Linked DNA regions of Homo sapiens: regions 2, 3, 4, 5, 6 and 7 are each linked to region 1. The links are contacts of gene promoters, found by promoter capture Hi-C in blood cells and fetal thymus (Javierre and others, 2016). All regions are on one chromosome and are shown on one strand. The core of a region is centred on a gene start or on the middle of the fragment in contact, and the rest is flanking DNA. Distances in the headings are between cores, read along the strand shown.

The links. Contacts are between HindIII fragments. The CHiCAGO score rates a contact against its expected background, and 5 or more counts as called.
Region 2: a fragment that was not itself captured here is called in contact with the fragment with the promoter of SCG5-AS1 in region 1 in 2 of 17 cell types (M2 macrophages and M1 macrophages); the score reaches 6.8 in M2 macrophages.
Region 3: a fragment that was not itself captured here is called in contact with the fragment with the promoter of SCG5-AS1 in region 1 in 1 of 17 cell types (M2 macrophages); the score reaches 6.2 in M2 macrophages.
Region 4: a contact is called between a fragment that was not itself captured here and the fragment with the promoter of SCG5-AS1 in region 1, in 4 of 17 cell types (M1 macrophages, M2 macrophages, naive B cells and 1 more). The highest score is 7.1, in M1 macrophages.
Region 5: a fragment that was not itself captured here is called in contact with the fragment with the promoter of SCG5-AS1 in region 1 in 7 of 17 cell types (endothelial precursors, megakaryocytes, naive B cells and 4 more); the score reaches 10.2 in endothelial precursors.
Region 6: a fragment that was not itself captured here is called in contact with the fragment with the promoter of SCG5-AS1 in region 1 in 9 of 17 cell types (M2 macrophages, megakaryocytes, naive B cells and 6 more); the score reaches 26.6 in M2 macrophages.
Region 7: a fragment that was not itself captured here is called in contact with the fragment with the promoter of SCG5-AS1 in region 1 in 8 of 17 cell types (M2 macrophages, M0 macrophages, M1 macrophages and 5 more); the score reaches 21.7 in M2 macrophages.

Annotation. Positions count from the first base shown.
Region 1 is chr15:32,671,488-32,674,454 of GRCh38, forward strand. It overlaps SCG5-AS1 (SCG5 antisense RNA 1), which reads right to left and starts at 1,578. Exons shown (of 4, transcript NR_135505.1): 1 at 1,503-1,578. All of the region lies in intron 10 of ARHGAP11A-SCG5 (ARHGAP11A-SCG5 readthrough), which reads left to right. All of the region lies in intron 2 of SCG5 (secretogranin V), which reads left to right. The HindIII fragment of the contact is 5,358 bases long and covers 1-2,967 here.
Region 2 is chr15:33,145,343-33,148,309 of GRCh38, forward strand. The region is part of intron 4 of FMN1 (formin 1); the gene reads right to left. Among named protein-coding and RNA genes, the nearest start is that of FMN1, 48 kb to the right of the region's middle. RefSeq lists an enhancer at 1-1,177. The HindIII fragment of the contact is 6,024 bases long and covers 1-2,967 here.
Region 3 is chr15:33,123,369-33,126,335 of GRCh38, forward strand. All of the region lies in intron 4 of FMN1 (formin 1), which reads right to left. Among named protein-coding and RNA genes, the nearest start is that of FMN1, 70 kb to the right of the region's middle. The HindIII fragment of the contact is 865 bases long and covers 1,058-1,922 here.
Region 4 is chr15:33,029,650-33,032,616 of GRCh38, forward strand. The region is part of intron 6 of FMN1 (formin 1); the gene reads right to left. Among named protein-coding and RNA genes, the nearest start is that of FMN1, 160 kb to the right of the region's middle. The HindIII fragment of the contact is 151 bases long and covers 1,491-1,641 here.
Region 5 is chr15:33,011,914-33,014,880 of GRCh38, forward strand. All of the region lies in intron 6 of FMN1 (formin 1), which reads right to left. It also overlaps the pseudogene HNRNPA1P71. Among named protein-coding and RNA genes, the nearest start is that of FMN1, 180 kb to the right of the region's middle. The HindIII fragment of the contact is 696 bases long and covers 1,173-1,868 here.
Region 6 is chr15:32,986,769-32,989,735 of GRCh38, forward strand. The region is part of intron 7 of FMN1 (formin 1); the gene reads right to left. Among named protein-coding and RNA genes, the nearest start is that of FMN1, 210 kb to the right of the region's middle. The HindIII fragment of the contact is 3,894 bases long and covers 1-2,967 here.
Region 7 is chr15:32,965,031-32,967,997 of GRCh38, forward strand. The region is part of intron 8 of FMN1 (formin 1); the gene reads right to left. Among named protein-coding and RNA genes, the nearest start is that of FMN1, 230 kb to the right of the region's middle. The HindIII fragment of the contact is 4,024 bases long and covers 1-2,967 here.

The DNA.
Region 1 (2,967 bases), core at 328-2,827:
GGCCAATCTGTTTCTCCCTCTCCTGCTCTTTCTCTTTGCCTCTGTCTTCTTCTTTCCTGTGGAGACAATAGCGTGTGGTGGAACTGCCTGAGTGCTTACTGAGAAGGAGAAACCAAGCGCAGATTGTATAGAAGCTGACGAATGAGTCCTCTGATTGTGGACAAGTGATGGCGCTTTTTGTAAAATTGTGTATGTGTTTACCTCAAGTAGTGAAAAAAAAAAAAGAAAAAACAACTTTTGGGGCAAGTTGGACCTTAGGAAGGAGATTTCTGGGTCTCGGGGTTTCTCTTAGCCCCCAGTGCCTGGTGCCTGCGGCCGGTGTCGCCTCAGGGAGTCCCAGGCTGTTCTGTGGCCTCCAGAAGGAGCCACCCCGCCCCTTCCTCGCCCCACTCCGCTTTGCCTTCCCTTAGCCTGGGGAGCCTTGCCGCCTCTCCACCTTCTCTCCTGGTCTCCTCGGGCGCTCTCGCGCTGGCACCTTCAGCTCTGTCAGAGTCTGAGGGGAAACCAAAGGAGGCCAGGCGGTGTCTGGAATGCCCCATCCGACTGCTTCAGGCTCCCAGACCGCTGACAAAAGGAAAACTGGTCCGTCGCTTTCTGAATGATGTATCGAGACCGCAGTGTATTTTTAGCATCTGCTGTTTGTGGTAACATAAGTGAAAACTGCTGGACCCGTTCCCTTCAGCTGAATGGCTGGTATTCAGGGGCCTGTGCCCGCTCCCTGCCAGACGCTCCTCACAGAACTCCCTTTTTACGAGGTGGGCGACTGGCTCCCTGGCACCAGGCTGCCCCACCACAATTCTTTATTGCCCAGCGCCAGTGCCCAATTGCATGAATCCCCAGGGCTGCAGGCAGCGTGAGGGGTGCGAATGGGACGATGCTGGCTGCGGGCTTGTCAGGGTGTTCCCAAGTTGTGTGGCAGAGTCTGGAGGGCAGGGGTTGTCCGGATGTTCCAAACCTCCAGCGTGAGGTGGGCACTCAGGTGCGAAGGAACCATGGTGGCGAGGCCCACAGGTGGCGTCCCATCCCAGAGCCATTTTGCCGGGGCCTGGCTCTGCAGTAGTCACTGACACCGGAGATCCCCTGAGTGACCTGGAAACTATGAGAGACCCCAGGTACCCCGACAGGTCATTCTACTAACTGTGGCTGTGGAGCTCCAGCTCATCTTTGGAAGACGGAAACGCACTGGAAAGGGTATGAATGGACGCAGAAGGCCTCGTGGGGGCTCTCTCAGTGCCACTGTAGAGTGAACACAGGGCTGGAATCCAAAATAGCACCAACTTGCTGAGTGGCTTTAGGCAAGAAACCTTTCCCCAGGTCTCACTTTCTCACTTAGAATGATGAATAGTGATTCTTGTCCTACTGACCTCACTAGGACGTTTTTAATAAGGATGAAAGCACTTTGAAACTGTTGAAACCATAACATCACAAAAAAAAAAAAAAAAAAAAGAGACAGAGTGACGAAGTAACGCAGGTCCCATTTATGTTCTTAATTTCTGACCAACCTTAACTTCCATCAAAACTGCTTCCACTAGCCCCAGCCAGGAGAGCCGTTGCATCGTGGTGGGACATCATCAGGCTCTCCAACGGACATCGCTTATACTATGAGAACTCACGTTCAAGGGAGGTGTTTACCTCTAATTCCCACAGAACTAGCGTAAGTAAAAAATGGGGCAGCAGGATCCTTTCCTTGCAAAGTGTGAGCAAGTGCCTCTGTAGAGTAAAACTTTAAGTAAAAGGACTACAACGGCAGTGACAGCTCCTTTATCTGAAACTGCAGACTTTTAAGAAGGTTCTTAGCAGCCACACCGATGTCACAAATTCCATAAAGCAAGATCACCTAGGCACTCTCTCGGAGCTAATTTTATCTCATTTTATATATAATTTTAATAAGCCTGGCTCTCTCATTTTCTAGCCCCTTATTACTGAAAATGTGGCTCATGGACCAGCAGCATCTGCACTATCTGGGAGCTTGTGAGGAATGCAGAATCTCAGGCCCCACCCTTCACCTTGAATCAGAATCCACATTTGGATAAGATCCCCGTGTGTGTGTGTGTGTGTGTGTGTGTGTGTGTGTGTTGTGCGGGGGAGGGTAAAATTAGAAGAGACTTGCAGGGCCTAGGCGCACTCTCAATTTATTGTATTTCATTATGGAAAGGATTTGGGATGACTAGAATTAATAACTTAGAAGGAGTGAGGTGACAAAGAACATTAAAAACTATTGCATCTGGGACCATTTAATATAGGTTTGTTTGTTTGTTTGTTTTGAGACGGAGTCTCACTTTGCCGCCCAGGCTGGAGTGCAGTGGCATGATCTCGGTTCACTGCAACCTCTACTCCCCAAGTTCAAGTGATTCTCCTGCCTCAGCCTCCTGAGTAGTTGGGATTACAGGCGCCTGCCTGTAATTGTATTTTTAGTAGAAATGGGGTTTCACCATCTTGGCCAGGCTGGTCTTGAACTCCTAACCTTGTGATCCACCCGCCTCTGCCTCCCAAAGTGCTGGCATTATAGGTGTGAGCCACCGCACCCGGCCCATTTAATATAGTTTTATATCCGAATGCCCTTTAATACTCTGAGAATACACTGTTACAACACTGTATAGTCATTGATATTCCCAGTAATAGTCCCAAATTATCAAGAACAGGCAAAGTCATATTCTCCTGCTGTTTAAAGTATTTACCTAATGTTCATAGTGGAAAATTCTCCTTTAAAATGGTTAAATAAATCTTGATCTTAAACCGATGCTTCAGTGATCTGAATACTACATGAAACAGCACGTTCTCTCTAAAGAGATAAGTGAGATGGTACTATAATCGGAAACCTCTGTTAATTCGGATTTTGTTTTTTATGCACATTTTAGAGAGTCAAATTATATCAAGATAAAATATGATAACAGAGATTTACTCTAAAATTAAACAATGAAAAAAACCCTACCAGTGCAACAAAAAGGCCATGGCTGTTCAGAGCCA
Region 2 (2,967 bases), core at 278-2,777, 470 kb after region 1:
TCTAGTTCATTATGCCCTTTCACACCGTGCTTCCATAGCACCTCCAATAGGGACACTGCTTCCCCAAGTCTGTACATCCTGTTATGCAGAATTTGCTTTCAATGTCCTAAAGAAATTTTAGTAACATTACTCTTTAAATTTTCACACTGCTTTTTTTATGGCAGTCCTCTCTCCCTATCTCCAGGCATGAATCCATGGGGCTGGCGCAACAGAAAATCTGGAGAACATACGTCATGCTATTTTCAGTGTTGTCCCTCCCCGTGGTAGCCGCTACCCTCGGATGTGGCTCAAATTCTTGCTTTCCTTAAGATGAGCTTTGTCCTGTGATGATCATCCCAGCCCTCAAGCAGAAGACTCTGGACGGGCATGACTGTCAAATTATCCAGACATGCCCAGACAAGTCTGAATCCTAGGGAGAACATAGCTGAGGCCCAAGCTGCACACCTTATTTACTCTCCACAATTCCTCTGGGCTCACCTGGAAACCAACAGCTTTACTCAGTCACAGGAGCACTTCTGAGTTCTCCCTCTAAACACAAAACTGAAACTAAAGACTTGAACGTTTTAGAAAAAATACGTGAAATCTGAATGAACTGATTTGTGACTTTATTGTGAATAAAACCGTATTACCATGAATTTTTTTTTTTTTTTTGAAATGGAGTCTCTCTTTGTCACCCAGGCTGGAGTTCAGTGGTGCAATCTCGGCTCACTGTAACATACTTCTCCCGGGATCAAGAGATTCTCGGGCTTCAGCCTCCCGAGTAACTGGGACTATACCATGAATTACTAATACAAAAATCTGAATCTCAGCGTTTGAAGTCCTCACTCACTTGCTTAGCGTGAAACCCAGTCCTCAAGAGAGGAAGTCCCTACCTCTCTTGAACAGCTCTTCAATACTGCAAAACTGTTGGGCTTCTGATGATAAAGTTCTTTCATTTCTTTTTGCCAAAGCTCCTTCTTCCTCAAGTGTAGGGGCCCTCCCAGGAGGATGAGGAAATGTTTGTCCAAGACATTCTGGCCCAGAAGTGTTCTCTCTTGGTACTTTTCCTTCAGTAGTTTGTTGTTCCTCCCTATTATCCAACATCGTTCCAGGACCCCTCAAATCCGTCTGTATCCCATACATCTCTGAATTCCAATTCTGACCTGATTTCAAGTTCTTTCCTATAAGGCTCTGAGCCTTGTTTCAATGTACTGGAACAATCCATGACTGTGAAAAAAAAATTCCTAGAACCTTCTATGAGAGGGAAGAAACTCCAGAACATGCCATGATAGGAGGCTGAGCTGCCGGGGCACACAGAGGAACTCCAAGGGGATGGTATGACCTAATATCACAGCCCAGGGGCCACAAAGATACATTAGATATGGTCTGATTCCAATTTCAAAATTATCTAACAGAAGTCACTATCCCTGTAAGTGATCAGAAAGCAAATACAGTGAGATCGGCACCACAGTCATTTATCTGCTCACAGCTATCAAGAGGAAGGGGGTGGGGCCGCAGTGGTATCTGCTGTTTTCAAAAAGTGCTTTCTCAGGATTCCCTAAGAAATAAAACAAAACAGGCCGTGGCTCACCCCTGTAATCCCAGAACTTTGGAAGGTCGAGGCGGGCAGATCACGAGGTCAGGAGTTCAAGACGAGCCTGGCCAACGTGGTGAAATCCCATCCCTACTAAAAATACAAAAACTAGCCAGATGCACACCTGTAATCCCAGCTAGCTGGGAGGCTGAGGAAGGAGAATTCCTTGAACCTGGGAGGCGGAGGTTGCAGTGAGCCAAGATCACGCCACTGTACTCTAGCCTGGGAAACAAGAGCGAGACTCCGTCTCAAAAAAAAAAAAAAAAAGAAATAAAACAAAACATACGCTTTCAATATTCAGTACTCTGCTTTATCAGTTTGATATAATACTTGTAATCCAATTACAACCCGAAAAGGTTGTCTTTTTCTCATGTCCCAACCAATAATGACATGAGGCAGAGTGTTGAGTTAACAAATATATCCAATGAATTATTCTCTAAAATTTAATATCTATTTATTTTAAAAATAGTTTTCTCTTTTACATTTATCAGTGGCTGTTACTTTTAATCATGGTGTTATTCTGCTATTTCTACACATCTTTGGAATTATTTCGGAAGGCTGTGCATATAGCCAAAGGCCACAGACTGCCACCCTTGCTTTATATCTTGTACTCTGAATCCAAAAATAGAGACAAGTGAAAAGCAATCCAGTGGAAGGTGTTATCCTCAAAGCATAATTCAATCTTAATCTGGGGAAAAATGCACAGGCATAGAGCTGGCTTGAGATTTTAAAACATCAGATTCTGGCCATGGTCCTGGCCTTTAAATCACATTCCCCTTTAAAAAGCAAAACAAATGAGAAAAATACTCATTTATTTTATACAGAAACTGACCTTAAAATACAAATTGTTCATTAGTAGAACATTTATTTCGTATTTCACATGCCAATGAGCTATTCTTATTTGAGATCATTGGAAAAGGCACTCTTTAAAATTCTCTTTATGCTTTACACAAAAAGCAAGCAGGCACAATGGGATCTCAAACACTGTTAAATTTTAAGAGCTTTGTGTGTTGTTTTTTGAAAAAAAAAATATTGTTTCTGAATCCATGGACTAAAAATCATATTACCAGGACTTCTAATTCACTTTCTCTTTGTATGAACTTTTAACAATAAAAAGATGGTCAACCTAATCAAATTTAGAGGAGAAAGGTCACATGAGAAAGAAATAAAACACTGTAATAATCATTTAAGTATTAAGATTACCACTGTTCTATAACAAAACATATACCCATATACCACATAAACACACATTCTTCTTTCCCCTGTTGCTCATTTAAAATTCCATCCCATCTTTCACATCCATTCACTAATAAATCGGAGGGAAAAAACTGTAGCCACTACTTCCACTTCCTTATCACCTACCTTCAGCCTCTTATAATCTACTCATAGACGTC
Region 3 (2,967 bases), core at 240-2,739, 450 kb after region 1:
CAAAGCCTACTGCACTATATAGTATACAGACTTGGTTCAAACAATGTTTGTTGAATGAATACATGGCACTAAGCTAAGACTCACTATCTGTGGCAATAGTTCCCCAAAGTAGTATCATAGCATATTAAGTAATAAATATGTCCTCAAAAGATAAATACAAGGCCTAGAATCTATTTCACCCTAAAACCAAGAATATTGAGGAAAAATTAAGTCTAACATATGGTATGGGGGTACAGGTTATATAGTGAGGGTTGTTGATCAAACAGCTAGCTATTTTATAGAATGCATGTTTTAACACAGATTAAGTTTTCCAAGACATGAACGTCCCTTCCATGAATTCCTCACTCCAACATCAGCACATTGCTTCCTCCATTTGGCCTTTTGGCTCCACTACGTAAAGTTTCTTAGTTAGAACTTCTTGTATTACAAGTGGCAGAAATCCAACTAAACTGGCTTAGGCAGAATAGAATTTGTTCATATAACCAAAAAGTCCAGGATTACAGGCATGGAGCTCAAATGATATAAGGAATCTCTCTACATCTCTCGATTCTGTTCTCCCCTCATGGTATCAAAGATAATCATTACAACTTCACAATTAGATTCTTCCAGCTCAGTAACCATAGCTACTAAGACAGTGTCCCAACTATTCCAGCAAAGGACTGGGGAACTACTCTCTAGAGTATAACTTAGAAAATGTGCCCGTCCATAAACAGATCACAGTGACCAGGTGACGTGAATTATCATTCAGTCCTGGGTTGAGGATCATCTCTAGATCCAATAGATCAGCTTCATCCTAACCATGCAGAGTGCAAAGGGTGAGACGTGGCTTTTCAAAAGAAAAGTGAGGTGATGTTAAAGACAAAAAGGAAACAGATGTTATGTGGAGGAAAAAAACACATTGACATTCACTGTAGAAAAGTTCTGAGACATAAAAGTGAGAAGGGGGTCTGGTCAGCGTCTTGCTGTGCTGTTATAGCCTCTCCGGGCTACTTCTGATCAATGAGTAGGACCCTCTGTACATTTCACCCCCCTTGCCATTTTGTGCCTTTATCAGTAAAGCTTCCCATGGCCCTGCCATTCAGCAGAGGCGGCAGCTGCATGACCTTCTTAAATTACTGCTTGGGACTGAGCATTGGGATTGCTTTAAAGCTCTCCCAAAGTGATCCTAATGTGTAGCCAGGGTTGAGTCATCGGAGTAGGAAAGCCCTTGGTCTTCACCATCAGCATATACAAATATTGCATTAATCTTCTAGAATGTATTTGGTATCTAATAATCTGTGTTCTTTTCAATAAAAATATCTGAGATTATTCCTTTCATTTTCAGAAACTGATCCACAAAGTCTGGAAGGAGAGGGAGGAAATCTCACAAATCAGACACTAAATAGCACTCCTTTGTGCTCCTTAATTTTGGATTTTGTTTTCTTTTTTGCATGGGATCAATTCAATACTAGATGAAAAAAATGCTTTTCATTTTTCTGCATTTTTTTTTTTAATTTGGAACGGGAAACAAATCATAGAGCCTTGTTTGGCACAAGGGCAAATGTTAAAGATACTATGTGCCACTCCCCTCCACTGAGGTTTTGATTTCTTTGAAATCAGAGGCAATTCAAATGAAGTTATATTCCTGGAATGTATAAAATCCCTTCTCGCATCCATGTCTACTCTATCATGGAATGCTTAAACAATTTAAAGCGACTGAGTTTTTCCACCAGCCCCTCTCTGTGAAATAACATAATGCCTTAGAACATTACATCTAGGGAGGCCAAATGATGCGGTAGAATGCAGAGTTTGAATCCCTGATCCATCACTTACTGTGAATCACTTACTCAGCTTAAGAAGGTCACCTAATTTTTGTCTTCCATAAAATGGAGGAAATAACCTCTCTCAAAGACTCTTGTAAAGTTTAGAGATAATACATAGAAAGCTTCTGATGCATAGTAAGCCGTCAAGAAATGTTAGCAATCATCATTTAGGAAAATAGTTTCCTTTTAAAATTCAGTCTTGAAGGTTAGTTCTAGTTGAAGAAAGGTAGACTCTTCCTAGATGTACCAGTGCACTAAGACAATATGTGTAGAAGATTATTTAAAGGAAATATCTAATGGGGTTATACAAATTAGTTATGTCTGGTCTTCAAATGAACCCTTCTCAAATTTGGATATCTAAATTACAGCTTAAAAAAATTCAGAATAGGTGGGGCATGGTGTCTCACACCTGTAATCCCAGCACTTCGGAAGGCCAAGGCGGGCAGATCACTTGAGGTCAGGAATTCAAGACTAGCCTGGTCAACATGGTGAAACCTCGTCTCTACTAAAATACAAAAATTAGTCAGGTGTCTCAAAAAAAAAAAAAAATTAAGAATGAAGTCTGTTAAATGGCCAACTTTGTATGGTGAAATTTTGGTAAAAACTCCCACTGTTTTAGTGACTGAGCCCTTCCTATTTTCATGTAGTTCATCAAGAATGTGCTTCATCAGTAATACTAAATCTCTAAATGTTTAACTTCTCAAGCATGACTGATTGGCTATAGCCTATTGAAAAGTGCCAAATTTCTTTCTAAAAACCATCTCTAACAATTCACGGTTGAAGGCTTTTTTGTGCAGTAAGTCACTAAGTTAGGAAAGTGGCTTCTAAATCTACACATGAGATAACAGTAATACCAAACTCACAGTGCAGTTGTGAAAAACAGATAAGGTGGATGAAAGGGCTTTGCAGGTGATAAAGCACTGTGTAAATGTTACGCTTTTGCAGCTGTGGCTGCCACAGCTGCTGACTAAATGAGTTTATCCCCGGTCATGAGGAGCATACATCCTCATTAGAGACATGGTGTGTTATTAAGCACCACCTAAAGACAGAGAGTTTTCCTAGACTTCAGAGAAGGAAGATGGGTGGAAAGATCAAGGAAACACCACTGTGAGGCAGGTACGGCACCAGGCCCTCATGGATGGGCAACAGTCTAATAGAGAGGAGG
Region 4 (2,967 bases), core at 316-2,815, 360 kb after region 1:
TGGGGTAAAGAAATCAAAGATATCACCGAGAATGCAGCATTAAAGAATCTCAGTGTCTCAGAGAAGGAAGTGAAGACAGCAAGAGCTGACAGACACAGAGAAAAAGATGTCTGGAGTTAAGCCCCTGAGGAAGAAGGGATCTGTGGTTTGGGAGAACTGTGGGAAAAAGCCAGAATGATAGAAGTTGGTAGGTAGAAACAGGAATGTTATAATTTATCTTTTCAAAGGCCAGGTGCGGTGGCTCACGCCTGTAATCCCAGCACTTTCGGAGACCGAGGCAGGCAGATCATGAGGTCAAGAGATCAAGACCATCCTGGCTAACAGGGTGAAACCCCGTCTCTACTAAAAATACAAAAAAAATAGCTGGGCGTGGTGGCGGGTACCTGTAGTCCCAGCTACTCGGGAGGCCGAGGCAGGAGAATGGCGTGAACCCGGGAGGCAAAGCTTGCAGCCAGCTGAGATTGCACCACTGCACTCCAGCCTGGGCGACAGAGCAAGACTCCGTCTCAAAAATAAACAAACAAAAAACTAAAACTGTGTTAAGTAAATATAAGAGCCAGAATGTAGATGCAGATAGTATTAGCTGACTGAAATGGAAAAGAATCACCACTGGAAGTGAGGAGAGGCCGGAATTTGGAATGGGTTATCCCAGTGTTCATTAAAAGAAAATAGAGACCAGAGACCTGGTAGGTCAAGAGATGAATGTGACCGGAAAAGTTCATCTTGAAAGTCACATAATGTATTCCTGAATCCCCAAAGAACTGAAAAATCACGTCACTCTGTGGATCTACGTTCTGACTTACTGAAGTTTTGTGTTAAGAGCTCTCACAATACAAGGATAAGCGGCTTGCAATAAATATGCCTTATTGGTTTAATGGGGACATTAGGATCTGGTTTCAGTCACAAAACCAAACAAATGATAACACTAAAATAGAATTTTATATTGCCAAACCATGTTTTAATGTTTACAAATGCCCTATTTCTTCATATACAAGAACACCACTGATTCTAAGATGCATCAGTATTTACATACCGAAAAGAAAGTAAAACTGCTGTTAGTTATAATTGTAAAATGCCCATTGTAAAACACATCCTAATTTCAGGTGTAGAAAATGTGTATTATACATTAGATAAAATATATAAACTCAAATAATCTATATAAACCTTATGTGGGAGTTTTTTTATTAATATACTTTAAGTTCTGGAACACATGTACAGAATGTGCAGGTTTATTACATAGGTATACACGTGCCATGGTGGTTTGCTGCACCCATGAACCGGTCATCTACATTGGGTATTTCTCCTAATGCTGTCCCTCCCCTAGCTCCCCACCCCACCCCCCGACAGGCCCTGGTGTGCAATGTTCCCCTCCCTGTGTCCATGTGTTCTCATTGTTCAACTCCCTGTGTGGGAATTATTATTATTATTATTACCACATCCGTGTTAGAAGTAAAAAAGATCAAGGCACAAACAGCTTAAATGGTTGCCCAAGCTTACACAGGTAATAAGAAATACAGCCAGGATTCGAACCCAGGAAGCCTAACTCCAGAATCTATATACTCTTAATGTCCACAGCATACTATCCAAACTCAATAAATGTCCATCGAGGAAGACAAAAAACCATCATGATACACAAGCCTAAGCTTTCTACCATCAGGAGGAGCCAGCACTGTGGAGAGGGTCTGCTTCTGATGCACCTGAGAGCACAAACTTCACAGAGGACTTGCAATCCACAGGGCAGATCTGACTCAGGCCCAGTCCTCTCCAGAGGAGCTGCCCCAATTAGTGGTTTCCTGAAATACAGACCTCGTGGCATGACCAGTCAGCACCAATTCATCCCCACCCACAGGTTTTTTTCCACTTGGCCATTACTATCCCCATTAAACCTTTAGCAATATGTACTCGTCCTCTTCTTCCAGTTGTCATCATATGCTTCATTTCATGAAGGCAACTCCTGGAGCCGCGTTCACAGCTGTCCCAAATAAAGGAGCCACAGCTGAATAAGCAGCCAGATGCATCCAGCCATCAGGTGATACAGCCTCAGGCTGCTCCATTCCCTCTGGCTCTCACGACTGGCAAGCTGGAGGGCCAGGCTCATGAAATTCACATATTCCCACTGACTGCATTAGTTACTGTGGTAACAGATGTCACAGAAATAGGAAGTCACAGTCATCAAGTTTCTATGTCCTATAAATATATGAACAAATGTTCAACCTTGTTGGTAAACAAATAAATATTGATAAAGCAGTAATGTATCAATTTTTTGTCTACTTGTTTCCAAAATGTTTTCACATTTTTATGTCATGAAACCCGATGTTGTCTAAAAATCAATAAATGTAATCATGAAGTGTTACAATCATTAACAACAAAAATAATAATTACTACTGCTAGAACTGTTGCTAATATTAACAGTTATCGTATGTGTTCTACGAACCAGGAATTGTGCTAAGCATTTTACCTGACTTACTTTCTCTAATCCATGGAGGTTTTAACCATAGTATTCCACTTGTAGGACACTTAGGGTCATTAGTTAGGAAAGAGAAAAGCAGACTACCTTTTGGGAGGTTGATTTGGTAGCTGGCATGCAACACTAAACGAGTACATCATGGTTTTAATGACTCATTCGTTGAATCCCCCTCCAATAAATTCTGGAATATGTTCAAAGATGTAGATGCAAGTATTCATTACAATGTTATTTCAATAGCAAAAATAAATATTAGCTTAAAGGTTCAAAAACATTGAATTTCTTAAATATTATCCATTAATCTTGTAATACTCCATAGTTATTAAAAAGTTAAGTGAATTATTTTCTTCTGTTTGTGTGTATGCCCTTGTATTTTCTAATTTTTCTACAGAAAACTACAGATACTCCTCAACTTACATTGGGGTTATGTCCTGATAAACTGATTGTAAAGTCAAAAAATCATTAAGTCAAACCATCATATGTAGAGGACCATCTCTGGTGTT
Region 5 (2,967 bases), core at 271-2,770, 340 kb after region 1:
ACTTCCATACACTTCACTTACAGCAGGAGTGCAAACTGGTATAATCACTATGAACAATGATATTTTCTAATAAAGTTAAAGATATTAATGCTTTCTTAACCAACAATCCTAACCTTAGGCATACATAAGTAACAAAACTATGAAGAAAAGCAACCTGTCAGTGGACAGCACCAAAGGAAGCATTGTCTCTCTTCCCACTGCTGTCATGTCTGCACATCAGAGTCCCTCAAAGGGCCTGAACAGCTGTGGAAGCTCCTCATCAGAGGGTTGGGCTTTGAAACCACCGATAAGTGCCTGAGGAATCATTTTGAGCAATGGGGAACGCTCAAGAACTGTGTGGTAATGAGATCCAAACACCAGGTATTCCAGAGGCTTTGGGTTTGTCTCATATGCCACCGTGGAGGAGGCAGATGCAGCCATGAATGCAAGGCCACACAAGGTGGATGAAGAGTTGTGGAACCAAAGAGAGCTGTCTAAGAAGATTCTCAAAGACCAGGTGCCCACTCAACTGTGAAAAAGACATTTGTTGCTGGCATTAAAGAAGACACAGAAGAACATCACCTAAGAGATTATTTTCAACAGTATGGAAAAATGGAAGTGATTGAAATCATGACTGACCGAGGCAGTGGCAAGAAAAGGGGCTTTGCCTTTGTAACCTTTGACAACCATGACTCTGTGGATAAGACTGTCGTTCAGAAATACCACACTGCAAATGACCACAACTGTGAAGGTAGGAAAGCCCTGTCAAAGCAAGAGATGGCTAGTGCTTCATCCAGCCAAAGAGGACATAGTAGTTCTGGAAACTTTCGTGGTGGCCATGGAGGTGGTTTTGGTGGGAACGACATCTTTGGTTATGGAGAAAACTTCAGTGGTCATGGTGGCTTTAGTGGCAGCTGTGGTGGTGGAGGATATGGTAGCAGTGGGGGTGGCTATAATGAATTTGGTAATGATGGGAGCAACACTGGAGGTGGTGGAAGCTACAATGATTTTGGCAATTAAAACCACCGGTCTTCAAATTTTTGATCCATGAAGGGAAAAAACTTTGGAGGCAAAAGCTCTGGTTCCTATGATGGTGGAAGCCAGTACTTTGCCAAACCACAAAACCAAGGAGGCTATAGGGGTAGCACTAGCTATGGCACTGGCAGAAGATTTTAATTACTGCCAGGAAACAAAGCTTAGTAGGAGAGTAGAGCCAGAGAAGTGACAGGGAAGCTATAGGTTGCAACAGGTTTGTGAACTCAGCAAAGCACAGTGGTGGCACAGGGCCTAGCTGCTACAAAGAAGACATGTTTTATACAATACTCCCGTGTATGGGCAAAAGAGTTAAGGACCATATTTGTGATTAGTTATATAACAGGTTATTTTAATTTCTGTTCTGTGGAAAGTATAAAGCATTCCAGCCAAGGGTTTTAATACAGTGGTTTGTCTGCACCCATGCTATCAATTGCTAAATGTAATAGTCTGATCATGAAGCTGAATAAATGTGTCTTTTATTTTTAAAAAAAGAAAGACTAGCAAGCAATAATATTAACAAAACTAAGAAGAATGGTGGTTTCCAGGAGAAGATGAACCAAGTTGGGTTGTGATTGAGCAAGGAGATGTTATATGGGTGTTAAATGAAAAATTATTCTTTAAATTGGATATTTTTTACGAAATTATCTTTATGCATATCTAACATTAAATGAAAGAAAAAATACTTCTCTTTTGAAAACTGGTTACATTCGTTTCCTCAAATATCAATATAGGCAAAACAGAACATCTGAATTCATAAAATAAGAAGCAGAAAGTGACTTAGTAAGTTTAAATCTTGTGTAAATGTTGAGTCCTAACCCATGTCATGATAAATATCCAAACCCTAACCAATTCCAAGCTTCTACAAAGTAGTCAAAGGAAAGCTACTTAAACCAAGCTTCTTGTGAAATTGATGTCCTTTGAGAATAGCATCTACATTCTAAATAGAAATTATACAGACTATATTTTGCAATGATTCATTTTGTGTAAATTGTACCTATATGGGTGTGACAGATATCGCTATGACTAATTCATTAACAAACCGATGAAGGAGACTACTGCAAAGCTAACATCTAGGAAAGCATGATTCATCTCCTCCTTTAACAAATATTTTTACCAAGAGTCCCAGTGTGACGGGTGGCAGGAAACACACTCCCATCCCAACAAGGATGACAGAATCCCTGGGCAGCATGTAGAAGGAGGAAGCTAATGCCTTTACTACTGGCATTGGTGAATGCTCACTTTGAGAGTTCACAAGAGAGTAGTAAGAGAATATAAAGGTTACAGAATAATGTCCATGAGTCAAAACTAAGTTAGTGCTTTCCAAATGTGTCTTGTTAGTGGCAGCCCCCTGCCCCCAGATGCTTCTTGAGGCTTGCAGATGCCTGAGTGTGAGGATGGGGAGGCAGAGGTGTCAACTCAAGACCAAGGATGTGTGTATTTGTTAAAAAGAGAACTTGACCCTAGCATTGGTATTCAGTAGCTCTGGGACCTTATAAGTGTGTGAAAAGGAGGAACAGGAATTCTACATCAGGGTTGAAAAGGGCAGACTCATTTGAAGTCACATTAGCCCCTAATGGAAGTTAATAAATCAATTTAAATAATCTATTCCACAAGAAACAAGTCTAAAGAACGTCTTTTTGAAAACAATAATGTAGTCCATGAAAGACAGAGAAAGGAGTAAGGCTCCTAACTGGCAGGATTCAACATTTTGGAGGAAAAAAAAATGAAAGAACTTTCTCTGTACAAATAAAGCTTTCTTAGTCTAGTATTTAGCTAATTGGTTCCTTCCCTTTATGTTGCACAAACCTTCCTTTTTGATCAGTTCACAATAACAAAACATCCTTCCTGCCAGGTGTCATTACAAAGTTTGTGCCCTCCAATTTGTGAAGAGCAGAATTACAGATGATTCCACAAACACAGAAGGCATGCAGTAACCACTGCTGAAGTCCATCA
Region 6 (2,967 bases), core at 219-2,718, 320 kb after region 1:
AGACAAACCACATTCTTTTCCTCCCCCACCTTAGATTATACTATATTACTTTTGATTGATATTCATCTCCATAATTTGTGCTTTTTGAAAGAATAATTGTTATAAGAATTACGTATTTCAGGTTTTCTCTAGTAATTGGAAGGTATGAATTTAAATCTGACTTATTTCCTAACTGATCAAACATGGACTATAATTTATGAAATATTTTCAAAATAAACATTTAACTATCCTATTCAAACTTGAAATGTCACTTCAATTTTAGTTTGACTGAGGGTTATAGATGGCTACATTTTTTTCTCCCAGGCAATTTTTCTATTTTAAATGTTATTAGCTGCCCATATTAATAATGTGAAAAGGCAGAGACAGGATAACCTTAAAACTCATACATCATTTTTTCTTAAGTGTTTCAAAGGTTAATACCTAACCATAAAGGTTAATGATACAAGGTCAGCTGTATAACATCCACATGAAACCACATGACCGCTGTAGCGTTTCATACCATTGACATGTTGCTGTTTTGTGGAATGTATTTGTCAGTTACAAGAGATGACATGCTTGTTTGGTGCCATGTACCCTTTATGAAAAAATGAACTGGCTCAAGTATCCATGCCAGTCATGTACTCCGAATAATTACAAACTACTTCACACTCTAAATATTTAGATCACTAGGAATTTCAACGTTAGACCATCACCTTTCCCCCGACTGCACATCAGAGCAGAAGGCTTTCTGACTGCCTGTCCTTGAACATAACACTAACACAACATATGAAACTGATTAGGAGGACTGAGGTGTTTGAAAGAAAAAAACTTTGATTTTTATAAAGATTGGCATGAAGATCATTCTTCTCAGTTGAAATTTACTTTGATAAAATACACCCCCTTCTCAACTGCAGTTGCCAAGTATAAAAACAAATGCCTACTTTCTTCTGAATCACTTTTTTATATTTGTCTCATGTATTTTTCAGATTTTCACATCAGTGTAACACAGGTAAGAATAAAAGCATAGAATTAAATCCGAATATTTACCTATGAAGAAACACTTAACAGGCCAGTACTAAAACTTGGAGCTCATAAAAGGGGAAACATGTCTTTCTGTCGTTGAGTATAATTTAGTTTCAAAAGATGGTTTTTTGGGTTTGCTATGCAAAATCCTCTAGCAACAGTCACAGTTTCTCAGTACTGGTGTTTTAAAGTTCTTTGCTTTGGGTAGTGCCTCGTTGCAGGTTTAGGAGAAAAAAATGTTAAAAGGTATTCCTGACAGCTGGCAGCCTGTCTCTCCAGTTTTTTTTTTTTTTTTTTTTTCTTTTTTTAGGTAATTAGGTTGCTAATAAGCAGGGAGTGAGTGATGCTGTTGGACTCCAATGTTTGATTCTAGGTCACAGTAGGACATAGTCAATCTGGACACTGACCCATAGCTCACAAATCAGAAAAAAATCATCTGAGAATTAGAAAATAATCTACCAAGCTCCTATTTGTAAACCCTCAATACAATTCTTAACCTTGCAGAGATAAAGCGTTGGGGAAGAGGAAGTATTTTACAACCTTTTAATCTTAAAAAACAATAAATTTGAAATTGAGCAAAGTATTTGAAAGAGGTGGCCTTACTTTCCTCCAACTGATTTATACATTCGTAACAGAAGCGTGTTTGAGTTTGTGTCATCTGAAGATTCTGCTCTTAAATATGCTACTTTAAACCTAAGACAGCATATTCTCAGTACAACTCACCATTATGAGTTGAGTGATGGTTTTTCTGCCCATCACTTAGACTGTAGTCAACACTTTATCTTTGGCAGAGCAATTTCCACATGGCATAAATGATGGGGCAATGGACTGGGAAGAGGCTCGACTTTCAGTCATGGTGCTTCTATCAGTTTCCTGCCTGCGTGGTCTTGAGCCCTCTTGTTGCTAACTAGAAGTAACCAGACGGTGAATCTTACAGGGTGGCCAACTTCCTTGGCTACAATAAACCCCGTTGTTGTTGTGATCATGTCACCTCCCTTTAATGTATTGAGAAAGTTGAGAACCATTAAGCTAGATTCTAAGACCAACTCTTTTACCCTTTAGCTCCCCATCTATAAAATGAACAGGTTTCCAAAATATCACAAATTCAAGTAAGTCTATGTTGCTTCCACTTAAGCTAACGCAAATCATCATGCAAATGTTGTCTAAACGCACAACATCTGATAAATGCACATTTAAGACAGTCAGAAACAGTAAATGTCATTCTCCCAGCAGAAAGTCATAAACTGTCAAAAATATCTTTTAAAAAACCTTCTGGAAACACAGTTTTTCCACTACAGTTTTCCTTTGTCTCTGAGTTTGAAAAATATTACCTGTGAAATCACTTTGGTTTACATCCAGTTTCCACTATAGGGGAAGAAAGGAAGACCAACCAGTGATTAATTTATAGACTAATGCATTACTGTGATGGCAGATTCAACTGTTTGTTGTTTAGTGAAAGTTTATGTCCGTCATGTACATGACACTGGGGATGGAAGGTAGGTGGAGGTACCTCTGCTTTCATAATTATAATGTGAGAACTAGTCTGCTAAGTGCCTAAGTCAATTCAAAATTTCCGAGGAGGAAGCCTTAGGGAATTAGAGATGGTTTCATGTATGATGAGGAACCCTTGCAGGGCACAAAGAATTGGCAAAGGTAAAATGATGATTGTGAGAAATCCAAGTGAAAGATAAAAGCATGCTGGAGGGAAAGTGTAGGGAAATAGCGGAAGAGAAAACCATAATAATTCCCCACCCTTTGTAGTCAAGTGCAGTTTAGCCCCTTCACCCGCCCCCCACCAAAAGAAAGAAAGCCAAGATAAATTGGAGGGTCTTAAATACCATGCTCAAGACTTTGAACTTAACTTGACAGACAGTAGTGAGCCACCAGAGGTGTTTTAAGAGACGGGCAACAACCTAAATAATCGATAAGGTGGGCTGAATACACGCAAGCTATGCTCAAGGCCTA
Region 7 (2,967 bases), core at 127-2,626, 290 kb after region 1:
TCACTCCTCAGGGTTCCCTCAGTCAGAACACATCTCCCAAATGTTTACTTTCTTATCTTAATTTCAAACACTATTAATGTTTACTGGTCAGGCATGGTAGCTCACACCTGTAATCCAAGCACTTTGGGAGGCTGAGGTGGGCAGATCACTTGGGGTCAGGAGTTCAAGACCAGCCTGGCCAACATGGTGAAACCCCATCTCTACTAAAAAATACAAAAAATTAGCTGGGCGTGGTGGTGGGTGCCTGTAATCCTAGCTACTTGGGAGGCTGAGGCAGGAGAATTGCTTGAACCCGGGAGGCAGAGGTTGCGATGAACTGAGATTGTGCCACTGCACTCCAGCCTGGGTAACAGAACAAGAGTCCATCTCAAAAATAATAATAATAATAAATACTATCAATGCCCACAAATTTCATCTATATACTTATTGTTTATCAAACATAGGTATATGTTACAATCCATAACATCTAAAAGTATATAGCTTTATTTCCATACCTATTTTCTCAATGAAAACTAAAAAGATAACTATTATTACATGGAATGGTCCACAGAATTTTGTAATACTACAGGTGATTTTGGTATTTAAAACAGTTGGCAGCCCTGGCTCCTCAGGTCTGCGTGTTCACACTTTGCAATAGATCTGCCTTTCCCATGATATATGACATTTTGGTTTTGGCCACATTCACCTCTTCTCTCCTCTACTTTTTATTTTTTAAATTATGATTTCGCCAATAGTTGAACCATGTAATAGTATGACATATGGAAGTTATAAAGTATAACAATAGAATGAACACCTGGGAAACCATTACCCAACCCAAGGGCTAGAACATTTCCAGTGAAGTACATCCATGTATGTGTTCCTCTCTCAGCCATACCCCTCTGCTACTCACTTAACTTCAACTTGAAGCATAAGCACCACGGATGTTAAGTGCTTATCTCTGTGGTGCTGGGGGAGACGGGGGAGAAGTAGGATCTTGAAGAAGGAAGTCAGCTGGGAATTCTGGAGTGAGCATGCGGCATGTTAAGGGCCACTGGTCTGGGCCTTGGGAAGGTTCTGGGCAGCTAAGGGGTGACGTCTAGAGTGAAGTGATGCAGAGTGTCAGGCCAACTGCTCAGCCCCATCCCCACTTCCTGCACCTGCTTGGCTCTAGCCCCACGGACTCTGAGGTCAGGCCAGTGTAACTAGTATTATAATTCACTTATATTCTGGAGTAAATTGGCTTTGGGAGTCAACCGTGATCAGTTTAAGCACCTGATCACCATTTACAACACTATTTCTATGGGAAAGGTATTTCCAATACTGAATGAAAGAATTTTGGAACACTGCCTCTCAGTGATTTTGGGACAGCCAGCATTTGGTAGGGCAATAATAAGGACGTGCTTCCCAACGAATGACCTGCCATGGTGGTCAACTGACCACTGAACATACAATTCTAGCTCAAAAGGAAGGCAGGGGGAGAGAGAGAGAAAGAGGAGGAGGAAAATGAGAAACTTACTAAGAAGCTGAAAAGGTAGTTAGATGAGGATTTATTTTTCCTTAAGTGTCTCTTGCTTATTCTAGAAATCACGAAAGAGACACCCAAGAAGGCAAAACGTCAAAAGAAAAAAAATCAGTTCATACCAGGAGTCAAAAGCAATTTAGGTAGATGAGAGGCAGTGTACACATAATGCTGAAAATTCACATTTTGTTTCTGGCTTCCCAGAAGAGCAAGACCAACATTTATGATGCAATCATTATATAAACTACTTAATCCTCTAGTTGCACAAAATATTAAAATATGATTTTGCCTCCTTTATGAGAAGGTATCCCAAATAATTGCACTTTTGCTCCTAAGCAAATACTCCACAGGCTCTTTGAGTCATTTTCATTTAAAAGCAGTAGTGCTAATAGGTACAAAAAGTTGGAGGGACCCATAATAAAAGAACTTGAATATGTGGTACCACCAGGAAGTGCCCGTGTTGCAGTCTTAACACATCATAGAGGGGCAGCCCCCCGTGTTATGTTTCAGGTTCAAATGCGCACCAAGCAGGGCTCTCTTGATGTCCTATTCATCTACTTTTCATTTTGCTCAAAAGTAAAGCCCTAGATTTATGATGAAACCAGTGAGACCTTCAGTATTCAATTGCTTTTCTTCTCAAAACGGCCAACTAAATGAGGAGGAAACAATGTAGACAATGATTGTCTCCAGCTTTCCCGTGGTCGTGGGTGAAGGGCCCACATCTCCCAGTGGGACTCTTTGATGGCTGCTGTGGTCCACAGTTACCTGTTGCTCATGAAGTCTCTCAGGGAAGGAAGTGAAGGCAGGCTAGTGGGACACAGGTGTGGAACAGCTCCCCGTGCTGTCGGACACACTCGTCCAGGGCTTACAGGTGGGAGCTATTGCCCTGGAATGGCTGTGCACTAATTTGAGAACACTAATACGGAAACATGACTCAAAATAAATATTCTGGGAAATGATTTTTTAGGAAATGTCTGAGTCTTTATTGGGAAAAAGGGAATACTAGTACTTTAGTTAATGGCAGAAGCTATTACAGGATCATCTCACTTTTTTATGAACCATTCATTTGGGAAATTACAAAGTATAATTGAATTTTGTAAAAAAGAAGTATCAGGATGTTCCAAAAACAAACTCTTGGCCCTTATTTTTTGGTGAGAGGAAAGGGGAAAATATGAAGCACATATGCTTAGTTTTAGGGTATTCCCCACTCCTCCACAGGGATTTCTGGTTGTTTTATCATTGTGAGTTGTGTGTTATTTTGTTTCATATCCTGCCTTGCCTAAGCAAAGTGTTATATAAATTGAAGAATGCATTACCACATGACTTGGGAAAAGCTGTAAAATGTGTCCTATATTTGCTGTCCTTTACAAACAAACTTTAAAGGAGAAAGTGGTCAAGAGACAACTTAAGATCTCTTTCACTGTCCTCCTTCCAGGCTCAGAAATAAGGCAGAACAAATCACACTCAAA